Linked DNA regions of Homo sapiens: regions 1, 2, 4 and 5 are each linked to region 3. The links are contacts of gene promoters, found by promoter capture Hi-C in blood cells and fetal thymus (Javierre and others, 2016). All regions are on one chromosome and are shown on one strand. Each heading gives the region's core, a stretch centred on a gene start or on the middle of the fragment in contact. The rest is flanking DNA. Distances are from core to core; before and after follow the strand shown. Region 1 overlaps LOC105372809 (a long non-coding RNA gene). Region 2 overlaps LOC105372809 (a long non-coding RNA gene). Region 3 holds the start of RIPK4 (receptor interacting serine/threonine kinase 4). Region 4 holds the start of ZNF295-AS1 (ZNF295 antisense RNA 1). Region 5 has its middle 19 kb from the start of PCSEAT.

Region 1 (3,149 bases), core at 520-3,019, 210 kb before region 3:
CCATCCATGTTGCTGCAAAGGACACAACCTCGTCCTTTTTTATGGTTGCGTAATGTTCCATGGTGTATATGCACAACATTTTCTTTATCCAATCTACCGTTAATGGACATTTAGCTTGATTAACAGACACTGTTCAAAAGAAAACATACACGTGGCCAACAAGCATATGAAAATGTTCAACATCACTAATTATTAGATAAATGCAAATCAAAACCACAGTGAGATACCATCTCACACTAGTCAGAATGGCTATTATTAAAAAGTCAAAAAAAAATAACAGATGCTGGCAAGGTTGTAGAGAAAAGGGAACGTAAATTAGTTCAGCCATTGTGGAAAGCAGTTTGGCAATTTCTCAAAGAACTTAAAGCAGAATTACCGTTCGACCCAGCAATCCTATTATTGGGCATATACCCAAAGGAATATTCATTGTTCTACTGTAAAGACGCATGCATGGTGTGTTCATCACAGCACAATTCACAGAAGTGAATTTTTTTTTTTTGCTTTGTATTTGCCACACTGTAGCTGATCGACCTGAGAAACAAAAGAGTACTGCTACTAAAGGAACCCAAGCTCTGAGTTGTCTCAAGTTTCCTCTTTTCCTGTTTTTCTCAGGTAGAGTTTCTCTCCTTTAGCTCATTCTGTCCTGAGAGAAACACCACTCCCGGATGTTGACCCATCTATAGCAGGAATTCTCCAAGTGTGGCCCCTCCCCGGCCAGGCACGGGTCTGGGAGGAAGCCGGCAAGAAGAACCAGCCTGCTTTGGGTTTTCACCTGGAAAAGAGGCAGAGCCATGTTGATTTTAGTTTGTGTAAAGCAATGAGCTATTTGCCTATAGCCTATGAAATAAATTATTAAAGATTACAGGCCGGGTGCGGTGGCTCACGCCTGTAATCCCAGCACTTTGGGAGGCCGAGGCGGGCAGATCACGAGGTCAAGCGATCGAGACCACCCTGCCCAACATGGTGAAACCCCGTCTCTACTAAAAATACAAAAAAAAAAAATTAGCTGGGTGTGGTGTCTCGCGCCCATAGTCCCAGCTACTTGGGAGGCTGAGGCAGGAGAATGGCGTGAACCCAGGAGGCGGAGCTTGCAGTGAGCAGAGATCATGCCACTGCAAATCCAGCCTGGCGACAGAAGGAAACTCTGTCTTAAAGAAAAAAAAAAAAAAGATCACTACTAATGCTATGTATTCCCTAGCTAAAATGAGCAGCCTGCTACTTTACAAAAAATTCCAAAGTGGCCCCGACGGTGCCCCGAGCGCTTCCCGCTTCTCCCTTGTTCATGAAGCTGCCTCATATCCCGGGAACTAGGCCACACTGGCCATTAAAGACACCGTCCTATGAGAAAATCCATAGACAATTTAACAATGTGGATTAGTCCGATCTTTACTTAAAATATAAAATGTGTTAATTTCATGACACACATTAGAAAGGTCAGAGGTTGTGTGTATATAAATTCCAATTTGCCACATTGTTTTTTTCCCCAAGCTCTCATTTGATGAAGCCATTTCATTCTAACTCTCCTTGCCTCTATGACATGCAGTCTTCTTGTCACAGACGTGCCTTTTGAGCTAATCTTTTCCAAGAGAACATTATAAGGTCTTCAGTTTCCCCTAATTTCTTTGAGCTCTGCTGACTTCAAGATACTGTTGCTGGAAACTTTATCCCTAGCTATAAGTACTATTTATACAACATTAGAACATTGTTTCTTTTTCATTCCTTTTGTAAGAGAATTTTTTTTTTTTTTTTTTTTTTTTTTTCTTTTTTTGAGACGGAGTCTCGCTCTGTCGCCCAGGCCGGACTGCGGACTGCAGTGGCGCAATCTCGGCTCACTGCAAGCTCCGCTTCCCGGGTTCACGCCATTCTCCTGCCTCAGCCTTCCGAGTAGCTGGGACTACAGGCGCCCGCCACCGCGCCCGGCTAATTTTTTGTATTTTTAGTAGAGACGGGGTTTCACCTTGTTAGCCAGGATGGTCTCGATCTCCTGACCTCATGATCCACCCGCCTCGGCCTCCCAAAGTGCTGGGATTACAGGCGTGAGCCACCGCGCCCGGCCTGTAAGAGAATTTACACAACATAGACAACCTATTGCTCTTAATGTGGTCTTTACATGGCTTTTTTTTTTTTATATATATGGAGTCTCACTCTGTCACCCAGGCTGGAGTGCAGTGGCGTGATCTCGGCTCACTGCAACCTCCAACAAGGCTTATTTTTAACACCCTACACCTCTGAATATGAGGTCATACCTCCTGGAATAATTCAATCAGTGTTAAATATCTTTTCTTCTTTATCTACTGTTAGTGATTCACCCCCTTGGCTACTCTGGACGTCCCCAGCAAGCACAGATTGAGGTCAATCCAGGCTACTGTGCCTCCTGGAAAAAGAAACTGGCCTTTTGTAGAAAAGCTATTGATGTTATGTTTCACAATAAAAACATGAGTTTAAAAAGCAAGTATAAGAATGCCTTATAAAAGACTTCATGAGAATTTAAGTGGAAAGCAACCTACTAATCTCTTAGAAGGTTATTTTTTGAGGGGGAAGAATATTTAGGAACATATTCAGTGATTGTGATTGCTGAAGATTTTCAATTTGTGGTATCATTAGTGTTGTTTTGAGTTGGCTGTGGTTTTCCATTGCTGCTTCATGCTTTCTGCTTATAAATTACTCTTAATATCAGTCTTAGTATTATCAATTTGATTTTACTCTTGAGTTAACAAATTGTTAATCAATTTGTGTTGTTTGGTTAACTCAGGAGTAATATGTTAATAGAACTGTCTAGGATTTTCCTGTAACTAAGCCTGGAGCCTTGTACCATTGGAGGTCACATGTGCTACCTGAACTTTCTCTGCCAGATAAACATAGTGGATGCAGCCTAATCCCTACAGGCCTTATTCAGGCATTAACAATCTGCTGCCTGTAAATCTGCACACATGAAAATATAGGCAAAATTTTCTCACAGTAAGTATATTAAAACTATCATATTATTTGTAACTGTATAGAGTGTTGTTCATAATTCAAGTAATATATATAAGTCGATATTCTCTTCTAATTGAAGCATAAATAAGTCATTCATAAACATTTCTAGGGCAAGTTGAATATTTCCTTGTCTCCATTTTGTTGTTATCACAAAATTCTTTTTCTGATGCAGC
Region 2 (2,903 bases), core at 275-2,774, 190 kb before region 3:
ATTTTGCATCCCACCAGCAATTGATGAGAGTCCTCACCAGTGTTTGCTGGTGTTGGCGTTTCAAATTTTGGGTACTTGAATACTTTTGTAATAATATCTCATTTTGTCATAATGTTTGACTTTTTAAGGAACTGTGAAACTGTCTTCCAGAGTGGCTGTACCATAAGCAATGCCTGAGAGCTGCAGTGGCTCCACATCCTTGCCAACATTTTGTGTGGCTACTCTTTTTAAATTTTAGTAACAAAGTTTCTGTCCATTTGACCCAGCAATCCCATTACTGGGTATATACTCAAAAGAATATAAATCATTCTACCATAAACATACATGCACATGTATATCCATTGCAACACTATTCACAATAGCAAAGACATGGAATCAACCTAAATGTCCATCAATGATAGAGTGGATAAAGAAACTGTGGTACATATGCACCAGGCAATACTATGCAGCCATAAAAAAAGAGCAAGATTGTATCCTTTGCAGGAACATGGATGGAGGCCATTATCCTTAACCAATTAATGCAGGAACAGAAAGCCAAATGCTTCCCATTCTCACTTATAAGTGGGAGTTAAATGATGAAAACATGGGGACACATACAGGGGAATAACAGACATTGGGACCTACCTGAGGGTGGAGGGTGGGAGAAGGTTAGATTAGAAAGAATAGCTATTGAGTACTAAGCTTTTGTACCTGGGTGACTAAATAATCTGTACAATAAACCCTGTGCCATGAGTTACCTATATAAAAAACCTGCACATGTACCTCTGAACCTAAAATTAAAGTTAAAAAAAAAAGAAACACAGGTTCTTATCAGCTTTTTAATGCTTACATAATAAATAGAGCACAGGCATGTTTCACTGAGTCCTCTGCTTGGGTCTCAGCCAAGCTCTAATCCAGGTGTCTGGCTGGCTAAGTTTGCATTGAGCTTTAACCAGAGAAAAGATCCACTTCCAAGCTCACTCATCTTATGGGCAAGATTCAGTTCTTTGCAGTTGTTGGACTGAAGGCTTCAATTTCCTGTTGTTCAGAGACCACCTCAGCTCCTAGAGGTGCCCTTAGTTCCTGCCACGTGGGTTATCCAACATGACCACGTGCCTTCTCAAAACCAGCAAAGCAGAGAGAGAGAGAGTCCAACAAAACTGATGTTAAATTTTACATTATTGTAATCATGGACATCTGGCCACCTTTGCGGTAGTCAGTTGGTTAGATGCATGTCACAGATCCTTCCCACACTCATGGGGAAGGAATTGAACAAGGTCATGAACTCCAGGATGGGGGCGGCTTACTGAGGCCATTTGAAGAGTCTGTCCACCACAAATATAAAGCTGGGAAAGGCTATAATATACCAGCGAAACCAAAACAAATAAATAGAATTTTAACATGTAAAGGACAAAGAAATTATTCTGGGAATAGAGGAAATTGTCAAAAAATTATTATGAATTTGTACATTCTTAAAACCAAAACAGCATGATGTAAAAGAAAAGCAATCAAAAATAAGAAAGCACATATGAAAAATGTTAATCCAATAGTTGAACTATTTTAATAATCAATCATAAATAAAGACAGGAAAACTTCCAAGACAGTAGAGACTCATCATGTTTCTAATTTTTTTCATCAACATATTCAATAAAAAATAAATAGAGTGTATGCAGGACTTCAAAGTTATGATGGTAAATTCTACAAGAAATGAGGAGTGATTAATTATCTTTGAGGAATTGGGTGGGAGTGAGAGAAGGATAAGCTGTTTTATGATATCTTTTAATAGTAGATACAGTTCTTAAATATATGATTATATTGCTTTAACTTTAAAAAAAAATAGACAATGACAGTGCCAGGACTTTAACTTCAAGAATGAAAAACAAATCTAAGAGAACCATAGAATGGCATTACCTTGACAAATATAACCTGTTCTATATTTTGGCTCCCTGTCCTATGGATTCAGATCCCTGGCTTTTCAATGAATGCATCTGTAGTAGTAGACTCACATTAATCAATGTAACAGAGACTGATGTATAAACCGTAACACTAACTTACAATTTATAGTGAAGTACACAATCACCAGAGACCATTTTTCTTCATAGAGAGCCTAGGAATCCAAACTATAATCAGAGAATTGCAATGGTAGATCTGGGCTCACAACAAGGGAGTCAGCTGGATAAATGGGATATATGGAATCTTTTGATGGAAGAGTCTTGTTTAGGGTATGGGAATATTTATCGTCCTTGCCCCTAGACTAAGTTTCTATAGGCCCAGCCAATCTTTGTCTCTGTGACCCTCCTTTTACTCTGCTTACTTGGCTGATAAAATTGGCCCTTCATTTACACACCTAATTGATTAAGACATGACATCATTCAGGTCGTTGTCAAGTTAAGCTTTCCTGGGCACTACTCTGTGTCATTAAGAAAGGTTTGCACATCTTTGCCCTGATCAGCTACTTCTGTATTGTAAGGTTTAACTCTCAGGGAACAATCGTAGTTTGACTATTTTCAAGTGGTTAAGAAATCATTCCACTATTTTCCCAAAGTACCAAAATAGATATTAATAGAATATTGGCTAAGATAACCCTGTTTCCAATATTAATTGATTAGTCTATTTTAAAATAACTCTGTTTAGAACTACTTTAAGTTATCTTTAATTAAAAACAGAGGCTTTTACTCTCTACTTATTTGATAGTGATTAATGAGCACTTTAAAAGTGCTTCATCTTCCTAAGAATTAAGCTCAGAAAAAACTCTAAACTCCCCATAAAATAAAGAGAAGAAATAAATTATTTTCTCAGCTGCTATCTCCTCAAATATTGCTTCTGTCCATTTTCTTTCTTCTCTCATCCTGAAACTCTGGTCCTTTCGCCATGTATTTCAAGTCTAATATTCTCTCTTGTCTTTCTCATCTTTAGTCTCTGCT
Region 3 (3,041 bases), core at 405-2,904:
AGTGGTGATTTGATGACACTCGTCACCACTCTACTGGTGTTTCCAAGAAACACTGGATTTGAGGGTTACGGCAAAAAGCCACCACTATCTCTGCTGTGTAGTCTCCTAGCCAAGGACGAAAATGCAAAGGGAGAGGACAGGCCTCTCATCCACAGAGGCGTCACAGTCACGGTATGGGGCTGCAGCACGCACTGCCACCCCAGACACAGGCATCACAACGATTCTGCAGAAAAGCTGGGGCTTAGCGGCCCCATCACTCAATCAGCCGAGCATTCGAAACCAGGTCTGCCAGGCAGCAAAGGCTAAATGGTATTTTAAAAAGGTGTCGCTTCTGAGTGTATGTGTTCAAGGAATCTCTAGGTAAAATACAAGCATAGCTTCCATGTAGAAGGTAAGCTTCATTAAAGGATAAATAATTAAAACGTGCTAAATTGAGCCTTACATATGAACCATCAAAATCAACTGTAAACAGTGAAATCTACAACAACAAAGAGGTACTGTTCAAGAACATTCTCCCTACCTCTCAAATTATGCACAGACGACAACCGACCCACCGAATTTAACACGGGCGGCTCTGCGTCCTTCCCATTCGTCTTTGTTACCTTGAACACTCCTGCTAGGTAGGTACAGGCAGGTTCCATTCTGACTTTTGGACTGGGAAACTGGGGTGCAGGAGGGCCCCATGGCACGGCCACAGAACTTGAATGCAAGGCCCTTCCCTAGCGGGTCGGTCTCGAAATTAAGTCAGCTAAAACGAGAGTGTGCGGCGAGGAAGCGCTGGGCGGACGGATCAACACCCCGGGCCCCGTGCCGGACCCCACTGCCAGGCCCGAGCCCCGGAGCTCCACCGCGCAAGCGCCGGGCGCCCGGGAAGCCTCGCCCGAGCCAAGCCGAAGCTTCCGACCGAAATAATTACAGTCTTACACCAATTTGTGTTCCAACGTAAATTACTAAGTAAGTCGAACGGAGGCTAACTCCACTCACAAAGCCCAGAGGCCCACATGGCAATTTTTCTAAGCCCTGCGCAGACCGCAGCGCCCCGGTGGGTCCCGGGCGGGCCGGACGCGCCTCCCAAGGGCGCGGGTCCGAGGCGCAAGGCGAGCTGGAGACCCCGAAAACCAGGGCCACTCGGGGAGTGTCAGGAAGCACGACTGGGCGCCTTAGGACGTCCGGGCAGACGCGGCCCCCGAGGAGCCCCAGAGGAGCCCCAGAGGAGCCGCCTGACCCGGCCCCGACGTGCGCGATCGAGCCCGGGCTCGCCAAAGCCCCCGCGCCCCTCCGGCCCGGACAGGCCGAGTGGACATTGTCGGAGCCCCGCGGCCTCGCCGGCAATTGGTTTCCCCCCCGAAGCTGCTCCGGGGGTGAGTTCGGGAGAGAGAGGCAGGACCCCGGGACCAGAGCACCCCGACCCCGACCCCAGCCCGGGCCCCAGCCGCCCCAGCGCCCCGCCCGGGCCGCTCACCTGTCGTCGACGTGCAGGCTGGGCGAGCACTTGATGGCCAGCCAGGTCTTCCAGTGGACATGGCGCACCTTGTACACCTGCCCGAAGCCGCCCGAGCCCACCTTCTCCCAGCCCGTGAACTCGCCCGCGTCGAAGGTGCGCAGCAGCGCCAGGGCCCATGGGGTCCCGCCGTCGCCCTCCATCGCGCACGTCTAGCCAGCGCCGCGGCGGCTGCCCAGGTGCCCAGGTGCGCGCTCCGCCCTGTTACGTCACTTCCGTAGGTCGTCCCGCCCCCAGGCCCCGCCCACTTACCCGCCCCCCGGGCGCCCTCTCTGCCAGCGCCCGGTGACTGCGGACGGATGAATAGACGCTGCGGGTCACTGCGCTCTCCCCTGGGTGAGCAGAGCTTCTCACGCTTCTCACGGGTCTCGACGTGCGCATCAGCTGCCCTGCTTTTCTTTGCTTTTTTTTTTTCCTTAATTGCGGAGTCACATGCAGTTGTAAGAAATCATTCACTTTGCCTAGTTTCCCCCAGTGTTACCACTTTGCAAAACTTTGCCAAAAAAAAAAGTCCAATCTCACAACCAGGATATTGACTTTGATACAGTCACCGATCTTATTCAGTTTTGCCGTTTTACTCGTCTTCCTTTGCATGTATTAGTTTTACACAATGTAATCATCTGTGTACCTTCCCGTATCCACCCCCACCTGGCCACTCCTGTGGCGATTTTACAGCCGCACCCCGGAGCCCTGGCATCACTAATCTTTCCTCTATTTCTAAAATTGTTTTATTTCAGAAATGTTATGTTTAGATACAGGAATCATACAGCGCCTAATTTTTTGAAATTGGCTTTCTTCACTCGTTAGTCTAATTCCCTGCAGGTTCACGTCTTGCTTTTTTACACGAGTTTCCTCTCAGAAAGTAACTTTTTTTAAAAAATTACCCAACAGCAAATCTAAAGTCCATTTCAAATGCAAGAGTTCCCTCATCCTTTCCTAAATAACAGCCTCTTTTTACAGGTAGAACAGATGGTTTGAAAAGGAAAGATTTTTTTTTCACATATGGGGAAAAAAAATTCCCAGCCTTGGAAGGATATTTGGGTTAGAGGCCGAAGTGCATCACAGATCACGCACGCGTCCACACCTCAGAAAACACTCACTCATTCCTGAGACGCAACGGTGAGTGAAGGCTTATTTTTGGCCACAGGAGATTAATAATGAAGACAGGAGGGCGGAGCTAAAGGAGAGGGTATTTTAACGACATTAACTGTGTTTTTGTGTTAGTAACTCGGAAAGAGAGAGGCTGCCCCAAGTCAGCGCATTGAAAGCCGCAGACCTAGTGTCTCCAGGCTCCCCCTTCCAAACGGGCGCGGACCTTCTTTCATAGCCTGTAGCGGGGAGCCGCGTCTCCCCACTGCCTCCCCACTCCCATCCGGCCGCTCTTTGGAGGGAACTCACACATCCCAACATGACGATGCTTGCTCGGGGGGCCTCCTGGGGGGACCAGGGAGCCACTTCCTTTCCCACATACTCCGGAAATTAAAGTTGGTCTCCTTAAGGCTGGAGTGGCAAATAGTTGTTTTAAGCTTGTCACAAATGT
Region 4 (2,925 bases), core at 426-2,925, 240 kb after region 3:
CCCTCCTCAGCACACTACTCAGAATATTAATCACCTTTCAAAGCTCAGGTCAAGTTCCAGCTACTCCATAAAATCTTCCATTATGGGTTGAATTGTGTCCCCACTCTTCCCTCCCAAATTTATATGATAAAGACTTAGCCTCCAGTACCTGGAGAATGTAGTCATACTTGGAGACATGGTCTCTAAGAGGTAATTAAGTTAAAATGAGGGCTTTAGGGTGACCCCTAAACTGATGTAACTGGTGTTCTTACAGGAGAGGAAGATTAGCACAGAGACATGAACAGAGGAAGGACCAAGTAGGGACAAGAAGATGCCATCTATAAGCCAAAGAGAAGCCTCAGAAGAAGCCAACCCTGCTGACACCTTGTTCTTGGACTTCTAGCTTTCAGAACTGTGGGAAAAGAAATCTGTTGAGTCATCCAGTCTGCAGTACTTTGTTATAGCAGCCCAAGCAAATGAATATACCTTCCTTGACTACTTCATCTTATAACGTGCAAATACCTCAACTTCAGCACCATTTACATGTTTATTCACTGCCTTTATTGTTAGTCATTTGTGTCTCCCCAAGAGGACTGAAAGCTATTTAAAGACTGATAATCTATTTAATATCTTTTGGCATTATCAATGCTCAACATGTTATCTTCCACAACAATAAAGATTTGACTTTTCTGTACTCTTCACTCCAATTAAATGCACGAGTGAAAATTATGGCTGTTAGTTGTTTTGCTGAAGTAAAGCGTATTACATCACTGCCCTGCTTTGGAGTACTGTACTGATTTTTCTATTCCTAAAGAAAATCCAAACTACAGACTGGCATACAAGACTTTTCATACTCTGGTTACAATTCATCTCTCCACCCTTATTGGACACTACTTACCATCTACTCTACAAACTTGCATATCCAGCCTCTGCCACCCAAAATCTCTCTCTTCCCTCTCCTTTACTTGGCTAACTTCTTTCGAAAGATCCAGTTGAAATGTCACCGACTCTACAAAGCTTTTGTAATTTGCCCCTAGCCAGCAGCTCAGTCATCTAAACTACCACAATACTTCATCTCTCTGTAATAACACCACAACTTCTTCAATTAATCTTCTTTTACATGTGTCTCCCCCAAGGGACTCCCTAAAGAAAGAACCCTTGTTTGCATGCACGTATCCCTGATGCCCAGCACAAGGCCTGGCAAGCTAGGTACAGGGCAAAGAGAGAAATCATCAAACTTGAGGCTCAAGACCTGGACTGGCTCACCTTTATTTCTCCAGCATCCGTTACAGAGCCCCAAAACGTGGCAGTATTCTTTGCTTTTTCTATTAGACCTTGTGACTTTAATCACTACTGGACGATGATTCCCAAATCTGTATCTCTGTTTAGACTCTTGAGGCTCCAGCCTCTCAGGTACCTACTGAACGGTTCCATCACAGTATATCCTCAGGTCCAGCATGGTACTTAAACTCCACAACTCTCGTCCCTGCTCCCACATCTGTTTGTCCTCACATATTCCCGATTTACTTTGGTGTGTTGCCAGACCCTAAAATTTCTTCTCTTTCCCTTATAGCCTATCACTGTGACCTGGTCAAACCTAGCTCTTACATAGCTTATAATCTGCTCTCTCTACTTCCATTGGCTTTGCGGACAACTAAAACTGTCCCTTCGGCTGGGCGCAGTGGCTCATGCCTGTAATCCCAGCACTTTGGGAGACCAAGTGGGGTGGATCACGAGGTCAGGAGATCTCAAGGCCATCCTGGTCAACAGGATGAAACCCCGTCTCTACAAAAAAAAAAAAAAAAAAAAAAAAAATTAGCTGGGCGATGTGGCGGAAGCCTGTAATCCCGGCTACTCAGGAGGCTGAGGCAGGAGAATCGCTTGAACCAGGGAGGCGGAGGTTGCAAAACCAGGGAGGCGGAGGTTGCAGTGAGCCAAGATCACGCCATTGTACTCCAGCCTGGGGCAACAAGAGTGAAACTCTGTCAAAAAAAAAAAAAAAAAAAAAAGAAAAAAAGAAAAGAAAAGAAAAAATTGTCCCTTTAATTATCTCATTTCCATCGAGAGACCTTCTTAACTTAACCCCAATTTTGTTATTTACAATTTTTCCTTCAGAGTGTACACATCTAATATTCAACAGTGTAAGTTCCTCGAGGGCAGGGGTTATATCTTCTTCAACTTCTATTTCAACAGAATGAAGCACATTATACTTTCAATAAAGTGTTAAAAAGGAAAAATAAACAAAAAGTTACTTTTAAGTAAACCAGCACTTCAAATTTTGACTTTCTTTTTAACATCAATATTTAGGGGTGCTTAAATTTAAACTTAATGACTACTAGTCCTTAGAGATCATCATTTACTCCAAGTACACGAGGAAAGCTTTAAAAGATAATTTTCCATGAGAAATCTTTCTAAAATGGATTAACCCACTTTCTTGTCTTCTTAAACAAGGTATGAGGACCGTAATGTAAGCTGCTTAATTGAGGACTCAGGGTCATCGTGTGAACAATCGCTGGACTATTTTGTAACACACGCGTGCCCTCGGAGGCTCGGTGCCAGGGCTGTGAGCGCTTGCACGAAAGGAAAAACCCCAGGCCGTGTGAAGTCTAACTTTCCCCGTCCTCTCGGTCAGGCAATCCCACCGGGGCACCTGTCTAAAAACACCCCGCCTCCGAACGCGCGCTCTTGCGGAATTCTCCCGAACCGCAGAGCCCTCGTGGCTGGGACCGCATAGCAACCGGGGGCAGAGTGCGAGCCCCCAGCGGTGTGCTGGGATGGAAAAGCAGGAGCCGCTGAGGATGGACTACGGGGCGTGTTCCCGAAAAGCCGGGAAGAGATGTGGCGGGGCTGCCGCGGGCGTCTCTAAGGCCGGCACGGGTGGCGTCTTGACTCCCTGCCCCTCCAGCCGCGGACCTCGGACGGGGGGAAGGGGGCTCCTCCAAGCGG
Region 5 (3,104 bases), core at 48-2,547, 170 kb before region 3:
ACATGACACACAATGCTGGTTCTGCCCCAGGATGACAGCCTGGGACGTTCCTGGAGTTTGTGCTTTCTGGGTTGGAGGTGGGCGTGGTCGTTGTCTTGGTGTCCCATGCAGCCCTGGGGTATGACAGGAGGAAGGAGAAGATGAAGAGATGACCCTCACCAGGGGTGCCCTCTGGGTACCAAGGTCATCTCCAACCCCAACATGTTTTCTTACCTTCGCCAGTCTAGACTTGCCCTCCATGGGTGTCAGTGGGCACCTACAGTGCAGAGACAGAGGTCAGAGGTTCCCCAGAGCCTAACAGATGGCCAAGGGCATCTCCTTGTCCTGCAGTTACTGTCTGTCAGAGGCTGAATAATGGCTGCCAAAAGATAGTCACATCTGGATACCTGGAACTGTGAATGTGATGTGACATGGCAAAAAAAAAAAAGACTTTGCAGATGTGATTGAGTTAAAGATTTTAAGGTGGGGAAATTATCCCGGATTAGCCAGGTGGGCCCTAAATGGCATTGCAAGAGACCATGTGAGAGGAAGGCAGAGGAAGACTTCACTGCAGAAGAGGAGACAGCGTGGCCATGGAGGCAGAGATGAGGGCAGTGCAGCCACAAGCCCTGGAGAACACTGGTAGCCACCACAAGCTGGGAGGTGTAGGGAAGGACCTTCCCCAGAGCATCCAGAGGGACCGGCCCTGCCCACACCCTGGTTTCAGCCCAGTGAAACTGACTGTGGACGTCTGGCCTCTAGAACTGTGAGGGAATCCGTTTCTACTGTTTTAAACCACCCGTTTTGTGGTCCTTTGTCACCGCTGCTGTAGGGAACTCCTACACCCTCTCCCATCTGGTGGCTGCGAGCCAGCAGAGCTTAGACCTGCACATGAGGCTCTCCGAGTGCACAGCCTGGGGGAGAGCCCCACCGACAGAACCGCCGCTGCCATGTCAACCTCTTGGCTTTCTGGCTCCAAATTCTGTCTCTCGGCTCTTACTTGTTGAACCAGAGCAAGAAACACAGAGAAAACTGACTTCTAAAACATCTGCATCCGTGTGAGGCAGGCAGACCCTTGTACTTGTAACTAACAGAAGAACAGATCCCCAGATGGGGAAAGGACTGATTTATCTGAGACGCTCGGGTGGTCGCCAATGCTAACACCGGTGCACTTCCTCCTGGCATTGTGCAATGTGTTTGTCTTGCGCTTGTGGTTTGTGATGCCTGTGTGCAGGGAGGAGCCCAGACAGGGCACATGGTCATGAGAGTGCCTCGAGAGGTGGCTTGGTCATTGTTTGGCATTTTGTCACCTGTAAACCCAGGCCAAGAGTCAACGTTGGCTGGGTGGCAATGGGGTTGTTATCAAGAATACTGACATGGTTTGGCTCTGTGTCCCCACCCAAATCTCACCTTGTAGCTCCCAAAATTCCCACATGTTGTGGGAGGGGCCCGGTGAAAGATGATTGAATCATGGGGGCGGGTCTTTCCTGTGCGGTTCTTATGATAGTGAATGGGTCTCATGAGATCTGATGGGTTTAAAAATGGGAGTTTCTCTGCACAAGCACTCTCTTTGCCTGCTGCCATCTACATAAGATGTGACTTGCTCCTCCTTGCCTTCCACCATGATTGTGAGGACTCCCCAGACATGTGGACTGTAAGTCCAATAAACCTCTTTCTTTTATAAATTGCCCAGTCTGGGGTATGTCTTTATCAGCAGCGAGAAAACTGACAAATACAAATACCAAGAGTAGCAGCATATCTCCAGAGGGTAGCAGTGTCCAGAATGTGCAAATGGAGTTAGCCTCAGGCCATATCGCCACCTCCACAGCCCAGCATCAGGGAACCACATCTTGGCACCTGCCATTTCCGCAGTGAGAACATCCTTCATCCAGGTTGTTATGTCACCAGCGTCTCCTTCCTTCATAATTGCACCCAATACCACCTTCTTCAGGAAGCCCACTTAGAGCAAACCCCTGCACTTTGAGAAAGGCCAAGATCATGGCTAGTGATCAGATTGAGCCTATGGCATCAAGAGGATGGGGGGTTAGCACCAGGCTCTGCCCTCGTCAGTCCCTTTACCTTCTCTGTGCTACTAGATGTGAGCAGGAAGACCAACAGGATGCACGTCCTGGAGTCAGATGTAATTCACAGAAGGCCTTGAGCACAGGGCTGGCAAACAAGCAGTGCACAGTGGGCATCAGTCATCACCGCTGTGTCCAGCTAACTCCACCCTGAATACTCAGGGCTGGCTGGGTAGCCTCTGGGATGACCCTCGGTGATCGCCTCTCGAAATTTGCTTCCTTGTGTGACTCCTTCTTCATGAGTGGGGCTGGACCTGGTGACTTGCTTCTGATGGACAGAATGCATCAAGAGTAATGGAACATCTCTGCTCTAGGTGTCAAAAACCTCTGACTTCCTTCTTGCGGGACTCTCTCTGTATGGCCTTCTCAGCTTGCTCACTTTGGTAAAGCAACAAGCTGTGTTAGATCCACATGTCGAGGAACTACACAGACAGTCTCTGGCTAACAGCCAGCAAGGAACTGAGACCCTCAGGCTCATAGAACTGGATCCTGCCAGCAACCACTAAGGAGCCTGCAGAGGGCCCCTGCTTGCTTAAAACTTCAGAAGACTGAGGCCACCACCCACTCCCTGGCTTCAACCTGGAGAGAGGCCCTGAAGAAGATTCAGCCGAAGCCGGACACTGTGGCTCATGTCTGTCATCCAAGCACTTTGGGAGGCCAGGGCGGGGAGATTGCTTGGGTCTGGTGCAACATGGCGAATCGCCATCTCTACAAAAAAATACAAAAATTAGCCAGGCGTGGTGGTGCACACCTGTAGTCCCAGCTACTCGGGAGGCTGAGGTCCCAGCCGAATCCCAGCTACTCGGGAGGCGGATCCCTTGTTCAAAAAGCATGAAGACTTTACAGATGGCGACAGCCTCTCGTTGAGCCCAGGAAGAGTCATCTGAGCCGGGGAGGTGGAGGTTGCATTGGGCCAAGACTGAGCTGAGGATGGAGACAGCAGGGCTGGGCTGCTTATCCCTGAAATACAACTGGGCCTGTTCAGAAATAGCTGCTTCACCAAGACCCTCCAAGTGTTCCCCATGGGGCCTTCCCACCATCCAG

The links. The method cuts DNA at HindIII sites, captures the fragments that hold promoters and counts their contacts. A CHiCAGO score of 5 or more calls a contact.
Region 1: a fragment that was not itself captured here is called in contact with the fragment with the promoter of RIPK4 in region 3 in 2 of 17 cell types (M0 macrophages and M1 macrophages); the score reaches 5.5 in M0 macrophages.
Region 2: a fragment that was not itself captured here is called in contact with the fragment with the promoter of RIPK4 in region 3 in 3 of 17 cell types (endothelial precursors, M1 macrophages and M0 macrophages); the score reaches 7.0 in endothelial precursors.
Region 4: a fragment that was not itself captured here is called in contact with the fragment with the promoter of RIPK4 in region 3 in 1 of 17 cell types (fetal thymus); the score reaches 6.6 in fetal thymus.
Region 5: a fragment that was not itself captured here is called in contact with the fragment with the promoter of RIPK4 in region 3 in 4 of 17 cell types (M0 macrophages, endothelial precursors, monocytes and 1 more); the score reaches 8.9 in M0 macrophages.

What each region holds. Positions count from the first base shown.
Region 1 is chr21:41,552,421-41,555,569 of GRCh38, forward strand. LOC105372809 (a long non-coding RNA gene) reads right to left here. Exons shown (of 5, transcript XR_937738.1): 5 at 384-772. Among named protein-coding and RNA genes, the nearest start is that of PCSEAT, 26 kb to the right of the region's middle. The HindIII fragment of the contact is 6,051 bases long and covers 1-3,149 here.
Region 2 is chr21:41,575,331-41,578,233 of GRCh38, forward strand. The region is part of intron 1 of LOC105372809 (a long non-coding RNA gene); the gene reads right to left. Among named protein-coding and RNA genes, the nearest start is that of PCSEAT, 3.7 kb to the right of the region's middle. The HindIII fragment of the contact is 1,691 bases long and covers 680-2,370 here.
Region 3 is chr21:41,765,398-41,768,438 of GRCh38, forward strand. RIPK4 (receptor interacting serine/threonine kinase 4) reads right to left here and starts at 1,655. Exons shown (of 8, transcript NM_020639.3): 1 at 1,463-1,655. The coding sequence starts at 1,644. It overlaps LOC102724800 (a long non-coding RNA gene), which reads left to right and starts at 1,770. Exons shown (of 5, transcript XR_937745.3): 1 at 1,770-1,837; 2 at 2,462-2,620. The HindIII fragment of the contact is 2,131 bases long and covers 895-3,025 here.
Region 4 is chr21:42,006,575-42,009,499 of GRCh38, forward strand. All of the region lies in intron 1 of ZBTB21 (zinc finger and BTB domain containing 21), which reads right to left. It overlaps ZNF295-AS1 (ZNF295 antisense RNA 1), which reads left to right and starts at 2,620. Exons shown (of 2, transcript NR_119384.1): 1 at 2,620-2,925. The HindIII fragment of the contact is 1,362 bases long and covers 995-2,356 here.
Region 5 is chr21:41,598,104-41,601,207 of GRCh38, forward strand. No RefSeq gene overlaps it. Among named protein-coding and RNA genes, the nearest start is that of PCSEAT, 19 kb to the left of the region's middle. The HindIII fragment of the contact is 5,238 bases long and covers 1-3,104 here.